Regions from separate parts of the Homo sapiens genome. Here all the other regions are linked to region 2. Evidence: promoter capture Hi-C in 16 types of primary human blood cells and fetal thymus (Javierre and others, 2016). All regions are on one chromosome and are shown on one strand. The core of a region is centred on a gene start or on the middle of the fragment in contact, and the rest is flanking DNA. Distances in the headings are between cores, read along the strand shown.

Evidence for each region. Contacts are between HindIII fragments. The CHiCAGO score rates a contact against its expected background, and 5 or more counts as called.
Region 1: a fragment that was not itself captured here is called in contact with the fragment with the promoter of SMIM19 in region 2 in 4 of 17 cell types (megakaryocytes, M2 macrophages, M1 macrophages and 1 more); the score reaches 7.1 in megakaryocytes.
Region 3: a fragment that was not itself captured here is called in contact with the fragment with the promoter of SMIM19 in region 2 in 1 of 17 cell types (endothelial precursors); the score reaches 6.9 in endothelial precursors.

What each region holds. Positions count from the first base shown.
Region 1 is chr8:42,653,960-42,657,174 of GRCh38, forward strand. No RefSeq gene overlaps it. Among named protein-coding and RNA genes, the nearest start is that of CHRNB3, 42 kb to the right of the region's middle. The HindIII fragment of the contact is 1,230 bases long and covers 1,154-2,383 here.
Region 2 is chr8:42,539,519-42,542,948 of GRCh38, forward strand. It overlaps SMIM19 (small integral membrane protein 19), which reads left to right and starts at 2,067. Exons shown (of 4, transcript NM_001135674.2): 1 at 2,067-2,855. It also overlaps a transcript of SLC20A2 not described here. RefSeq lists silencers at 1,648-1,927, 2,068-2,487. The HindIII fragment of the contact is 8,293 bases long and covers 1-3,117 here.
Region 3 is chr8:42,471,264-42,474,435 of GRCh38, forward strand. SLC20A2 (solute carrier family 20 member 2) reads right to left here. Exons shown (of 11, transcript NM_001257180.2): 2 at 839-1,391. The coding sequence starts at 1,127. Among named protein-coding and RNA genes, the nearest start is that of SLC20A2, 28 kb to the right of the region's middle. The HindIII fragment of the contact is 1,221 bases long and covers 1,183-2,403 here.

The DNA of each region.
Region 1 (3,215 bases), core at 519-3,018, 110 kb after region 2:
GCTGGAGTGTAGTGGGTATTCACAGGCAGATCATAACACACTACAACCTTGAATTCCTGTCCTCAAGCTATCAAACTCCTGGCCTCTGCTTCCCGTGTAGCCGGGACTACAGGCGCACACTACTGTGTCCAGGAATAAAATGTTAAGATAATTAGTATGAGGCCAGATACAGAAAGGTCAGCATGTTTGGTTTCCAGAACCTCCGTGTGTGACTGACAGCTAGTAGGTGACTGCTTTCTCAGGACACATCTTTCTAAATCTAGTGAGAAAATTTCTTAAGCATTTTATCAGGAATAAATGATATTCCCAGAAGGAGATTTGAAGTATATCAAGCAAAAAGACTCCGTCCCAGACCGCTTGAGAACAACTTTCCTTACACATTTGTGAAGTTGTTCTCATCCTGCCAGAGTTCACAAAGAGAAGAGAAGAATAGGCAAACTAAAATTCACACAAATCAAACCATACACAGCATAGGGGCCTCCTGGATGCCATGGGTGCTTAAAAAGGCATTTTCTTGAAAGCACTTTATTTCCTCTTAACTCATTGGACTGTTGTTAAGGGCAGATCTTTGGTTTCTCTGCAAGAAACATAAGCACTAGTTAGGAGTCATGCTGGAGAACCAGGAAGAGAGACTCAGCTGGTCACCAAGACACAGTGGAGCAGCGACTCTCACCCCAGAGATTGGTAGAATGACCCAAGAAACTTTATGTGGGACAGCAGGACTGTAACTCAGCCAATGAGACTGGCATCTCTGGACGTGGATCCAAGCATCCCATTTTTTTAAAGTTCTACATCAGTGGTCCTCAGACCTCAGCAAGCATCGGAATTGCCTGGAGGGCTTTGCAAGCACGGATGGCTGGGCACACTCCCAGAGTTTCTGATTCAGCAGGTTCAGGGCGCAGTCAAGAATCTGCATTTCTAATGAGTTCCCAGGTGATGCTGCCCTAGAAGATTCTAACGTGAGCACAAAGTCAAGAACTGGCTCAAGGGGTGGCTCTTCAGCTTCCACACTGGAATCACCTGGGTGCTTGTCAAAACCATAGGCCCTGACTCATAACTAAAATTTAAGATGTGACATTATTTGTTTACACCCTGAGTAGTTTTCACTGAAACTGAACTGAACTTGTCAAAGAACAAAGAAGAAGAAAAGAAAAGCTTATCCCATTGTTGCTCATGCTTGAACATTGCACACAGGGTGTTTACGGAAATGGGAAGGGCCGGTTTGCAGGGAAGGCGTGTTCCTGGGGGCAGAATTAGCAGGAGGTCTGGGGCAGCCAGATGGGTTTATGGATGGCTCAAGGGTAACTAAGTGTCTGTGCATTGCTGAGCGAGGTGAGAGTCTTGGCTGATGTTCCCCACTGTTTGAGAGCATAACACGCAGGGCCAGGACTAGCAGAGGAAAGTAAGATGCCCACTATGGGCTCAAATTGACCTGGGTGCCCCCAGATTCAGGAATTTATAAAATAAATATATTTTCAATTTTTAAAAAGAGACTGGGTCACCCAAGCTGAAGTGCAGTGGTGCAATCTTGGTTCACTGCAGCCTCGACCTTTTGGGCTCAAGGGATCCTTCTGCCTCAGCCTCCTGATCAGTTGGGACTACAGGTGTGTGACACCCTCCTGCAAAAATTTTAATTTTGAAATAATTATAGACTTACAGGAAATTGCAACATTGGTATACCCAACTTCCCCCAATGATGACATCTTATAGTACAAAATCAAAATCAGGAAATTGACATCAGGACATTACTGTTAACTAGACTGTAGATGGCCAGTTTTTAAACCTGTATTCATTTGTAATGTGTGATGTGTGTGTGTGTATGCATATAGTGAATGCAACTGAAGACAAATATTTTAATGCAGTATTTTTTTTTTTTTGAGACAGAATCTCGCTCTGTCACCCAAGCTGGAGTACAGTGGCATGATCTTGGCTCACTGCAACCTCCACCTCCCAGGTTCAAGCAATTATCCTGCTTCAGCCTCCCAAGTAGCTGAGATTACAGGCACCTGCCACCACGCCCAGCTAATTTTTGTATTTTTAGTAGAGATGGGGTTTCACCATGTTGGCCAGGCTGCTCTCAAACTCCTGACCTTGGGCGATCTGCCTGCCTCCCAAAGTGCTAGGATTGCAGGTGTGAGCCACTGCGCCCAGCCAATGCAGTAATTTTAAAAATAAAAATTAATGCAAAAAAATGATAAAAAATACAATTTTAAATAATGACAGGATCCGTAAAAGCTCTGTGCTAACCACATTGGATCCTGAGGCAAAAGGAAATATCAGAAACATTTTGTTCATCATAGATTTGTTTACATAAATGTAGATTTTAAACAATATTGCATTAAAGGATGATTTATCCTGACTGCTGAGCTGTTGGAGCCCCCTAAGCTTTCATACCCGAGATGAGTGCCCCCTCTCCATGCCCTGGCTCTGGCCCTGCAAATGAGGGCGCCCTGACAGTCTGCTCTGTGTGGCGCCTTCCTGGAGGCAGAGAGGGGCCAATGAACCTCTCCTGCTGCTCTTCTCTGCTGCCATCTGCTCTGCTTTTTGGGCTGAGCAGGGTGGCACTGGCACTGTGACTCAGCCCCAATTACATGCTGCAAGAAGGAAGCAGGGCTTCCTCCTCAAGGTAGATGGACCGCAGCAGTGAGCATCTCTGTCCCCTCCCTCTGCCCCCCGGCTTCTCTGGAGTGGAGCTTGGCACCGAGCTGAGCAGTGGCGGAGCGTGCCACCCCATCTTTGCACCAGGAAGTTCAAAAGAGACACCGATTCACCTCCAGGTTCCTTTCCCAAGACTTCATTTTCTTCTGGGATGCCACTGCATCTGTCCTGGTTTGCTTGAGCTGCCATAACAAAGTACCGCAGGCAGGGGCTTAAACAACGGAAACTTCCTCACAGTGCTGAGGGTGGAAGTCCCTGATCAGGTGACAGAGGGGTTGGTTCTCGGAGGATTCTCTCCTCAGCTTGTAGGCTGTCTCCTCCCTGCATCCTCACGGGGCCATCCCTGCGTTTCTGTGTCCCCACCTCATTTTTGTAAGGACACCAGTCATATTGGATTAGGCTTACCCTAATGACCTCCTTTTATCTGAATTACCTTTTTAAAGGCCTTGTCTCCAAATACAGTCACATTCTGAGGTACTGGGGATTATAATTTTAATATATAAATTGGGGCTGGGCGCAGTGGCTCACGCCTGTAATCCTAGCAGTCTGGGAGGCCG
Region 2 (3,430 bases), core at 817-3,316:
CTTTCACAACTAGCTACAATGTAAATAACATCCTTAACATTTAAATGCCCAGTAAAACTGTGCTAGACTCATCAACAAAGTAATAGCCAGTCCACTGTTTTTTATTTTTTTAGTTTGGTATTGGAAAATTAGCCTTGTTTCATTATGTTTGTTTACCCTTAATTAGGAATGTCACTTAGAAATTAAATATGGAAAGAGGGGGCCATTTAAGAAAGGACCATTAGGGCTTTCTCAATATTTACCTTTTTCCAATGTCCTAGCATAGCCTGTTCACTGGGTGACAATGTTATATAATAGAAACTCTGATAAATAAGAGACACGGGGCTTTGGAAACTATTCAGCACCTAAATAAAGGGACTAATTGTACTTCTATGAATTTTTAAAGCCATCTTCCAACTTGAAAAACACATTAATTTACTCTATGGGTAACATTTTATATTGCCAACACTCTTATTTTACAAAGGCATAAACAAGCATTTAATGCACACGTTTGCCCGGCGCGGTGGCTCACGCCTGTAATCCCAGCACTTTGGGAGGCCGAGGCGGGCGGAACACCTGAGGTCTGGAGTTCGAGACCAGCCTAGCCAACATGGTGAAACTCCGTCTCTACTAAAAATACAAAACTTAGCTGGGCGTGGTGGCGGGCGCCTGTAATCCCAGCTACCTGGGAGGCTAAGGAAGGAGAATCGCTTGAACCCGGGAGGCGGAGGTTGCAGTGAGCCAAGACAGTGCCATTGCACTCCAGCCTGAACGAGAGCAAAACCCCGTCTCAAAAAAAACAAAACAATAACAATAATGTACACGTTTCACATTTGGACACACTGAAATCAAACTCACGTATTCAAATTTTTTTAGATTAAGTTACATAAAGCATGCACACCATTTGGCACAGGCCCGGCAAACAATCAGTACTCAACATCACCTGTTATTTTCCTGATTTTCCAACTTTAGAGTCAAACTAAATGTTATAGAATTATATGTATGATTATGTATATACAATATATATAAATACATATAAATACCGTAAATTAAGCTAGTATGTTATTGCGTAAAGTAATGGTCTTACCCTAGACGAAGGTGAGTTTAATTGTAACAGATGAAACAAAGAATAGAAAACTTGTTAAGAAGTGTTCAATGTAAGCTCTCATCTCTGCAGGGTTTCATGTGACTTATAATTACCAGTCAGCTGGTCCTAGAGAACTTAATCAAAATGTATAGTAAAGACGAACTACGTGGACCAGTGGCCATTTATCTGCAAGGTGGCACCAGCCACTGACATCTGATCACTTCCATACTGATGCTGAAATCCTATGCAAATTCATTACTTAGGTCAAGCTGGGAAACACTTCTGTCAAGTCACTACACAATTAAATAAAAATACCCAAAAGGGACTTACACTGACAATGCTATAGCATCCTGGCCATATCCAGTTTTGAAAACACTACGGTGTCAGCCACGCACCATTTAGGACGGGGAGAATGGAAAGCCAGTTTGGAGAACAGACGCTTTCTTAAGAGTACACGTGAATATGAAAAGGGACTCTATGCTCTCAAGACCAAAAAAGAAATCCTCTGCGCCGCCCGGCTACATTGCGCCTGGTGGGACAATGTACACGACCCCTCCCCCGCCGAGTCCCACCCCAAGCGCGCACAGCGGAGCAGGAGGCGCCCGGCACTCGCAGGTAATGCCCGGTCCCTGCCACTTCCGTCGAGTTTTCGCAAAGGCGCCGCACGGCAAGCGACGGCCAGGTCCACGTGGGCCAGCAGGCGCGGGGGACGCAACCCGCCGCCGCCGCGAGCCCCGCCGGCGCCGACCAGCCCTGGCCCCCACCCGCGGGAGCCCGGGAGTCGGGCCGGGGGCTCGCGGGAGGCGGCGCGCGCAGCCCGGGCGGGGGTCGCGGCGCGGTAGGGGAAAGGAGCCCGGCTCCACTCACGCGCCCGGGGGCGGCACTGGGGCCGCCGCTGCGTCTCTCCGGCTCAAAAAACTGAAAAGGGGAAAGGAAAAAAAAAAAAAAAAGACCTGGCTCCTCGTTTCATCCGGAAACCGACCGGCCGGCAGGAAATGACGAAGGCAGAGGGCGTCCAGGTCCGCTCGGTAACCGTTTCCCGCGCGCCCGGCCCCGACTCCGGGGTAAAGAGCCCCGGAGCGGAGCAGCGCTGGCCGCGTGCCGCCTCCGGAGCCGGCAGCGTGAGTGGCCCCGCGTCCCCGCTTCTCCCGGTCCCCGGCGGGGCCGCGTCACCCGGCCCCGCCCCGCGCCGCCCGCCCCGCCCCGGACGCGGGGGTAAGGGGGGTGGCCGCCCGCCTGCCCTCGGTCCCGTGCGGTCCCCGAAACTCCGAGCACCCGCCCGGTCCCGGCGCGGAGCCCCTCGGCGTCGCGTGGAGCTGCGAGTCGCCCGCTTCCGGAAGCGCACACGGGCCAGTTGCGGCGGCCCATCTGCCGGGGCGGCGGGGGCTCGGCGGGAGGGTTGAGGCTGAATCACGCGCAGCCTGCGGGCGGCGGAAACGTCCCTAGAGCCTCGCCGCCCTGGGACCCGGGCTGCTTCCTGGGAGAGGATTACATTTTCTCCCTGCTCCACTTGACTTTCTTCCGGAAGGAGCAGGTCTCGCAGGATCGGGGCCAAGACTGGAAGAGTTCAGGTTTGGGAGTCGTGTGTATAACAGCCCCGCGCCTCCACGCCCAGGCCTGTGTGGCTTTGGACAAGTTATATAACCACCGCCGCCACCCCAGTTTCTTCTCCTGTAAAATGGAGCTTTAGTGCCGCCCAGCAGGGTTGTTGGGATAATTCAGTGACTCTGTGGACTGCCCAGCACCTGTGAATTGCTTTCCTGGATGTTGGGTGAAGGCCTGTGAGCTTGTATGTACCCTTTGGCTTCAGAATACCAAGCCTTTAGTGTTTCAGAGGGATGAGAGAAAGAAATCCCATTTTTTGATGCAGAGGATTTTGTTGTAAGGGACTCTAGGAACTAAGTGGTTCCAATGTGAATTTGTATCAAAGTAACAAAGTTCTAAGTGAGAGACAAAAATGATAACATTCAAGGCACGATGACAAGCGGTGGTCAATTTTAGAATCACCTAGACGTGACATCAGGAACCCAAAATCACGACACAGATTTTAAAGCTTATGATACAGTGACCTAGTCCCTAGAAAAAGTAGTTCTCGGCTGGGCACGGTGGCTCACGCCTGTAATCCCAGCACTTTGGGAGGCTGAGGCGGGCGGATTGCCTGAGCTCAGGAGTTTTGAGACCAGCCTGGGCAGTATAGTGAGACGACCCCCACCCCACCCCCGTCTTTAAAAAAAAAAAAATAAGAATTACCCAGGCATGGTGGCACTTGCCTGTATTCCCAACTACTTGGGAGGCTGAGGCAGGAGAATCCCTCGATTCTGGGACGTCGAGGCTGCAGTGAGCCGAGATCGCACCACTGCCCTC
Region 3 (3,172 bases), core at 543-3,042, 69 kb before region 2:
CTTTTCTGTCGTAGCGAGGGCAGTGATGGGAAGACCCACGGGGCCGAGATCTGTGTCCGCTTAGGCCATGGGGACATCACTCTGTCCAACCAGCCACTCTGCTTATTCACACAGTTCACACACCTCCACACTTCATGTAGACAACTTGAAACTGCAATAAAAGGTCATGCTATCACCAGGCAACACGCACATTATTTTTTGGCCGGAAAACAAAACAAACATACCAAATGGAGCTCCCAGAGGTAGAATCAGAAAATCAAAACAAAAGCCAACAAAAGGATGACAAATAATGTAAGAGACCAGAATTTCTTGAAACACACGCACTTAAGATTTATTTGGTAACTTCTTTAGAACTTAAACTGTGAATATAAAAGTTAGACTAATAAATATTATTTTTGACATCCAAGTTTTCAAAACATTGCCTCCTAATTGATGAAAAACCTTAAGAAAAAAATCTAAATCAACCTTCCTGGAAATTTCATACATCAACCTTGAAAACACATTCACTTAGACAACCTTCAAACAACTCTAAAATAATAAAGCGCTGTTCTACAAAGGTCTTTTTCTGTACTTTCTGAAAAGTATTCACTTAGCTGAAATCTATTTTAGCAACCAAGTTTGCTCAAAAGTTCAGAAAATAAATGGTTGCCTGATATTTAAACACTTTAAAAATCATAAATTAATATGCAGAAAGCAAAAATAAGAGAGTAAATGTGAAACATCCAACCAGTTTTTGAAAAGCCAAAGCAAAAATCACATTTATGGATATGGGCAAAGTACTGCAGGGAAGCGGGTCAGTGGGCGGATGTCCCATCGGTATAGAGAAGAGGCTACTCACCAACCATGGCACTAACTTCCCCAGCCATGAGAGTCTCCACCGTCTCGTTGTACAGGTTCACGTCAATGATACCTTTGCGAATGGTTTCTCCTACTTTGGCGCCTAGTAACACGGAGCCGGTGGTTTCAAATATTGAAGCTAAAATGCATGCCTGCCTCAAGGTCACCACACCAGAGCCCACGGCTGTACCAAAGGAGTTGGCAACATCGTTTGCACCAACAGAAAAGGCCAAGATGAAAGCTATGATGAAACCCAAAATGACCATCCACAAATACTCATCCATGGCCATTTTGGAAAGTGGGTGCCGGGTACTTTTCTTTTGCAGGAATATTTTAAATAAACAAAGCTTGAGGTTATAAACTTCGTAAGGCCAAGAGTTCTTGTAAACAGTGAGTTTGCTCTGGAAAGTGCTGGACAATGTTAGAGGCTGGACAAACTGCTAGCTGCTGGTTTGCAAACTACTGTCAGGACAGTTCATTTGGTTGTGTTCAGTCAGCGGTAAAACACATTCCATATTTTTCCTCCCGATCTGGGAAAGCTGTGATGTCTCCTCCTGTAGCAGAAAGGAAACAAAAGAAATCAATTATACTCAGCAACCTGTAACAGTTTGTTCTTTCAGAAATAAATGTTTTAAGCCTGCTAATGGGATCTAACTTTGGCATGTGACGGACCTAACCATAAAGCAATTCAAGGAAGATTATAATTAGGATAACCACCCCCAACCAAAAACACAAAAAAACCTGCTTTCTAGAATTGTCAGGAGTTGAAGCATGCTTAATAATTACAGACTAATAGTAATCCTTACTAGGTTACATTTTTCATGCAATCGGAAAAACATATTTGGTCATTATTTTCAGAGAGGAACAAGTGCCTCAAATGAGCAAAAGATTAAGAAATGAGAAATTTAGTTGCATGGCTTTTCAAATATGTGGAATGTGTCCAGTTTCCTGGAACAGCAATAACCAAATCTGAGTCTGTGATACCACTGGGTGTGGCCAACGACCCACCTCCACATTTACGCATAAGCAATGAGCACAGTATATTATCATGCATGTGTCTGGGAGAGTTTACAGGCCTGGCGAGAGGTCACTCATCTGGAGGGTGACCAAGGCAGGAACTGACAGGCCCCAGAGAGGAAAAGAGAAGCCTGGAGAATGAGGCAATCCTATCACTACGCCACTATCCCATCTCACTAGGAGGAAAAGCTAGAGGCCCCGCCAGGGTCAGGAAGACCCTTCAGGCCTCCTCGCAGCTCACTGGCCTTAGCTCCTCTCCCCTCCCTCACAATGCCCTGGTGTCACTGTCCCCTTGCAATCCCTTAGAAAGACCAGGCACACTCTCACCTCAGGGCTTTTGTACCTGAGGATCCCTCTGCAGGAAGAATCTTCCCCCACAGCTGCACAGCTCCCTCCTCCCTGCATTCAGGTCCCTGCTCAAATATCACCGTTAAGAGAGGACTTCCCTGACCCCAGAAGGAGCAGCCCCTCCCCCATGCCACTGTTCCTGCTTCTGGGAGGGAGAGGAGATGCCATGAGATACATCCATGAAATAAAAATGTCACTGCAAGCTTCGTAATTATGGTATTCTATTATTGGAGAGCCAAGGCACTGTATATTTTCTTTGAATGGTATCAAGCATATAAATGCTTATTGAGTTGAACTGAATAAATACCACACCATATACAATATAATAATTTGACCCATCAATAAGGTTATTTAAAGGGAAAAATCAGGACACACAATTTTATGTACACTGTGATTATGGCAATGTTGAAAATGCATATAAAAGGCCGGGTGTAGTGGCTCACGCCTATAATCTCAGAACTCTGGGAGGCCGAGGTGGGTGAATCACTTGAGGTCAGGAGTTCGAGACTAGCCTGGCCAACATGGTGAAACCCCATCTCTACTAAAACTACAAAAATTTGCTGGGCCTGGTGGCAGATGCTTGTAATCCCAGCCACTTGGGAGGCTGAGGCAGGAGAATCGCTTGAACCTGGGAGGCAGAGGTTGCAGTGAGCCAAGATCATGCCACTGCACTCCAGCCTGGGCGACACAGCGAGACTCCATCTCAAAAATAAAAAATAAAAATAATAATGCATAAAAATACCCAGGGGTATATACTAAAATTATAATAGAGGTTGAATAGGAAGGTTAGAGACAATTTTTTCCTTTCCTCCCCAAACTGTATACTGTGGTTACATGCTTTTTAAATGAAAATAATATATAATAAACAAATCTACAAACATATTGAGCATCATCGATGTGCAATGCTATAGGCACACAATGAAACAGAAAATATACATTGATAGTTGTTATCATTTCTAAGATTTTTCAG